2 separate regions of the Homo sapiens genome follow, and region 1 is linked to region 2. Evidence: promoter capture Hi-C in human tissues and cell types (Jung and others, 2019). All regions are on one chromosome and are shown on one strand. The core of a region is centred on a gene start or on the middle of the fragment in contact, and the rest is flanking DNA. Distances in the headings are between cores, read along the strand shown.

Region 1 (2,700 bases), core at 123-2,622, 240 kb before region 2:
TGCTGCAATCGCAGTGTGGCAAGCCCTGGTTATGAGGCATGTATTGCATATGTCACGGCCCTCATGGAGTTATCCAAGTCCCTCAAAAGCCAAACTTGTGCAAGATGAGAGATGAGTCATTGTCACATTGTGTGCCAGGGCCTACAAGTGCGCCATAGCTTCCCACCTGCTGTTTTATCTTTACTTACAATGGTGTTCCCTGACTCCCCACCTGACAGGTGAGTTTCAAGGCTGCTCAGAATGTTTCCTCTTTCTGAGGCCCTACCCTGACCTCCCCAAGTCAGGGGGCTCCCCTGAACCACCTGCTTTCCCCGTTGGGCTTCTGAGGACTTAGGTCACATTTCTCTTAGAATGATCTTTCTGATCATTCCTGTAATTACTACTAATTGCTCCTGTAATTACTAGTCCACATGCCTGCCTTCCCAACTGGATTTGGATGTCCCAGAAGGGGGTGCCTATTCTAGAGTGAGGAGTCTCTGGTGTCAGGTGACTCACTTTATAATTTTCAGTCTTCACTTCAGTCTCTGAGGTAGGCCTTATAGCTACTAGCTTGTAGTGATAAGATTCACCCCCGGCCGGGCGCGGTGGCTCACGCCTGTAATCCCAGCACTTTGGGAGGCCGAGGCGGGTGGATCATGAGGTCAGGAGATCGAGACCATCCTGGCTAACAAGGTGAAACCCCGTCTCTACTAAAAATACAAAAAAAATTAGCCGGGCGCGGTGGCGGGCGCCTGTAGTCCCAGCTACTCGGGAGGCTGAGGCAGGAGAATGGCGTGAACCCGGGAAGCGGAGCTTGCAGTGAGCCGAGATTGCGCCACTGCAGTCCGCAGTCCCACCTGGGCGACAGAGCGAGACTCCGTCTCAAAAAAAAAAAAAAAAAAAAAAAAAAAAAAGATTCACCCCCAAGTCCACTCGGCTCCACCAGGAGCCTTATGTCATGACACTATGCTTATAGTGTCATAACACTTAGGAATATTCTGTATTAATTCTTTAACCCAAAGGAATGAATGAGGAATTTGATCAGCTAGTAGGGCAAAAAATTGCAGGAAGGTTTCCAAGTCCCACCGTCAAGATGTTCGCATAGTTGGGAAGGGGATAGGATGGGCTGAGGTATTAGAATAAAGGGCCACCCAAGGAGCTCAGGACCTCTAGGGTGACCTGGGGCTGTGGTACTTAAACACAGAGTGATTCTGGAAGCATCTCCTTCAGTGACTACATTTCTTTGTCACCCTGATGGAAGAGGTTTGGGCCCAGATAAATTAAATCTGTGCTATTTTGAAATCCACCTGTCGTAATTTCCCCTTTGCTTGACATGATTTGTGCTTACTAGTAGGTCCTTTCTATAGAGATTACCTCTGCTGTTAAGCTTTCCCACAGGTTGGAAGTTTGAGGCTGAGGCTTAATAAAAGCACACAGTGACATTTTCAGATTTGTAAACATAGTTTTTCTTGACCACTTTATCGAGTGTCACAATTAGGGCTTTGAGTTTTCTTTAATGGTTTTTACACACAGTGTAATGGGAAAAAAAAATCCACACAATAAGAGGTGCCGCTGGCAGGTGTTTTAACAACCCTAAAATTATAAAGCCAAGAGTTCATTCTCATATCTTTAAAAATGACCAGGTCCTTGTGGGCCCCTATTAATGTTTTCTCAATTCTATTAATAGACTTCCTTTGCTAGTGCCTTGCAATGTATAACACATGGCATGTTTTATGGAAACACTACCAGACTCTGTTTTGGAAGTTTCTTTTTCTTTCTTTCAGACTTGACATTACATGTTTGATCAGAAGGAATCATAATTTATACTTGTTTTTTTGGTACAAGCTACTTGTTTTAGTTTCTCAAAGTGGGGAATGTCGCTCCAGAGAAAGGTCTATTTGAGAGTTAAAATCCTTTGAAACACGGAACACATTTGATTCTTGAAAATGGTTCCAAAGTCTGGTTTCCCTCTTCAAAGTGGTCAAATGCAAGCTGAAAAGTGTTTCAAATGAAAATCCCTCTGCTATCTGACATCTCCCTTGCTTGACAAACACAGGCAAGAACTGAAAACTACTGGCTCGGCACTGTAGTGTTGCTGACAACCATTCAGTCCATGCCAATTTCCAAGGCATTAGTTAATTCAATTAGTTAATTTTTTAAAAAAGTAATTACATAGCTAAAATACATATACATAGCTAAAATTTCCAATGGTGAGAGAGGGTCTACAAGGAAAACACAAATTATTCTCTATACCAGACGTTGGTTCTCCAATTTTCCTAGTTTCTTAAGAATTCTTAAAATATTCCATGCATACAATAAACATTTTATTATACACAGACAGCCTGCTCTATATGCAGTCTCTACACACTATAACTTGACAATGGCATATTAGCACACGTAACTTTACAGAAATATTTTTAAAGGATTTTAGAATTCGATGACACTTAATGAGTCCCCTTCTGATGGGCATAGAGATCATTTCCAGTCTTCTGCTATTATAAACAGTGATTCAATAAAGCCTCAATTTACAGCGAGGGCAGACCTCTGGTAGCATGGGGGTGGAAGCCCTAATATAGCAGAGAAGCAGCTGCTTTTAACAGCTCATGGCAAGAGAAAGCCCTCAAAGGGTCAAGTATGGTTTCCTGGGCACACTTTCGTTTGAAGGCTGTGTAGCTGCCACACTAACATGATTTTAAAACAATACAATACAATAATTTGACC
Region 2 (2,700 bases), core at 166-2,665:
TATTGGGGGTGGGGATGAAGAGGAAAGCCATTAGGTCTTTCACTGGACTGAATCATAAAAATAGCTCAGAATTGCATTTCTCCTTTTTCTCACCCCAAAGAAGTAGTGGTTACTCCTTTTATCTCTAATGGTTCCAATGTCATTTTAGATCTACACTTAGGTACACCTAGGAATCCCATCTGACATTTAGAAATTCCATCTCTTAATCCGAGGAAAATCTTGGCTTGAAAGTAATGGCACCAGCCCCTTAAAATGGCACCTATGTGCGAATACCACTAATTTTTAGTTAATTTTAGGGCTGTTACTCTAAAACAAAAAAGTTCTTTTGAAATTCTAATTCAAAAAGCAATGAGTTTTAAAATAACCCTTTCCATGTTATAAAATACTTATATGCTCATTGTAGAACATCTGGGAAATCAGAAAACTGTAAAAAAAATTTTTTTAAACCCTCAAAAATCCATAAGTCTATCAATAGCTATCAATTCTATCTATAGCTACTGTAAACGTTGTGGTACATCTCTTTCAATATTTAAGTGCCTTGATATATTTATTTTCACGGTTGAGATCAGAATTTGTGGTTTTGCAACCCGAATTTTCCATTTAAAAATATAATAAGAACTTACTTCCCCAGTCATTAATCTTCCTAAACATAATTCTTAAGTTTGTAAAAAATCCATCCTACAGATACACCTAAAAGTCAGTTTATTTACTTTGTTTCCCCAGGAAAGAATCCTACATGACCATGGTTCTGGGCCTGTGTAAGTGCTGCCTTGTGAACAGTGTAGATAAGATCACAGAATCATCCTCCAAATAAAGTACTTAAAGCCAATGTAAAAGTTTTTCGAAGGCAAAGGGGCACTGTGAATCCAGCATTTTCCAGTGTTCCCTAGACGTGAATCATCTCAAAGAGAGGCCATTATTCGAGTGCAACAGGGCTCCACGCCTCCAGCGATGTCAAAGTTCTGCTAAGCGTCCAAAACCTAGCAAAAGGTTCCAATGGGCCATTGGAACTCGGCGGCCGCGGCGGAGGCTGCTCCCAAGGCGGCAGCAATCACACCGGGACCGGCTGCAGAGTTCCCAGTCCCGCGGAGCGCTAGCTGCCGGGCGGACGCGGAAGCCCGAGAGTCCTGGTCTTCCCGTCCAAGTTTAATCCGCGCCTACGCGGTAAATTCCTGGAGGTGCTCCCAGCCTAGCCCGCTGCGCCCGGCTCCGCGCCTGGGCAACCCGGGCTCCCTCCCGTCCCTGGCGCCCTCCGCACCCGCCTAAGGCGCGGCGGTCGAGCCCTGGCTGCGCCCTGTGGGCGCGCTCCTCCGAATCCCAAGTTCGGGTCGCGAGTCTGAACTTGGGAGGAACGCGCCCCGGGTCCCCGCCCTTCCCGGACTGCCCGATCCCCATCCCCCGCAACCGGGAGCGCGCAGGCGCAGCCGGCCGGCAGTCCCGTCAGCTGTCCCAGAGCCTGTGTCGCGCCCGTGCCGGTAGCGCCCGTGCCGGTAGCGCCGCTGCCACCGCTCACCATGGGCCCGGGTCCTCGGCTGCTGCTACCTCTCGTGCTTTGCGTGGGGCTCGGCGCACTTGTGTTTTCTTCGGGGGCCGAGGGCTTCCGCAAGCGAGGCCCCTCGGTGACGGCCAAGGTGACCGAGAGCGGCGGGCTGCAACTTCCCCTGTTGCGGGCGGGGCCCTGGGGGCGCTTTGGATACTGGGACCTCGGTGTCAGGGCGGGCGAGGTGGAGGCTTCCCGGGCGCAGGGGGACTGGAGGCGGCCGCGGGACTGGGTGGGAGGGGGCTGCTCGCGTGCTGGGAGGCCGGCGCTCCGGGGGAGACCCTGGGGGAGCTGGGCTGAGGCCAGCCTACCTCCGCCGCAGTCTGCTTGGACTTCTTGTCCCGGGTCGGTAGTCCGAGGTGACCAGCCTGGGGGTAGGAGAGGCTTCCGGAACCGGCGGGCCCGTTCTCCAGGAAAGAGACTGCCCAAGTACTTCCTTCAGCGTGGCCTGGGCTCGGGAGCAGAACGAGAGGAATGCGGGGAGGGGGGCGGGACCCGCACAGGAGAGGCGCTCGGAGCCCAGGGCTTGCAGCCGCCCGCCCGCTGCGTGGTCTCCACGCTGGCCGCGGTGGCTTCAGGCAGGCATTAAAGCGCCTGGTTCAGATGAGAGACTACCCTCCGCCTCTTTTGGGGAACCGTCGTCCTTCCCGGGAAGGGGAGGTGCGCCTTCAACTTCGGCGGGCGGGCGGCCCCTGCTGTGGGCTACGCGAGGCCGGGCGAAGGCGGCACCTGTAGACCTGGGGCAGCCTCCACTGCGGGGAAAGGGGGCGGGGGGCTGCCAGAAAGTGCGTCTTTAAGGCTTCCTCGTACTTAACTCCGCTTCAGTTCTTTTTTCAGCGTATTTAACCAAGGGTAGACGATAATGGGAGAATGCAGGGAGAGGGAGGGGATAATTTGGTGCCCATGATCACCACTTCTAGAAAACCCACTGGCAATAGTGTCTTCGAAGCTGAAGCTGGAGGGGGCGGGCTGCAGCTGAAAGTGGTCTTCATCAGTCTGGGGTTTGTCAATGGAAACGATACTAATCAACGAGTAGAATGCTTACATCCTCGACCGCAGACGCCACCTGAGGACGGGGAGGACTAGGGGGTGGGGAGGAGGAGGTCCAGCTCAGCATCTGATGTCGCAGAAAGGCCGTGCCACGTTGTGGGCGGGGCTGA

The links. Contacts are between HindIII fragments. The study calls those that stand out against the background at their distance.
Region 1: a fragment that was not itself captured here is called in contact with the fragment with the promoter of PPIC in region 2 in 1 of the 25 tissues and cell types used here (aorta).

What each region holds. Positions count from the first base shown.
Region 1 is chr5:123,275,853-123,278,552 of GRCh38, reverse strand. No RefSeq gene overlaps it. Among named protein-coding and RNA genes, the nearest start is that of CEP120, 150 kb to the left of the region's middle. The HindIII fragment of the contact is 6,559 bases long and covers 1-2,700 here.
Region 2 is chr5:123,035,440-123,038,139 of GRCh38, reverse strand. PPIC (peptidylprolyl isomerase C) reads left to right here and starts at 1,415. Exons shown (of 5, transcript NM_000943.5): 1 at 1,415-1,631. The coding sequence starts at 1,515. It overlaps PPIC-AS1 (PPIC antisense RNA 1), which reads right to left and starts at 2,218. Exons shown (of 2, transcript XR_001742868.2): 1 at 1,852-2,218. RefSeq lists silencers at 1,189-1,238, 2,547-2,700. The HindIII fragment of the contact is 11,652 bases long and covers 1-2,700 here.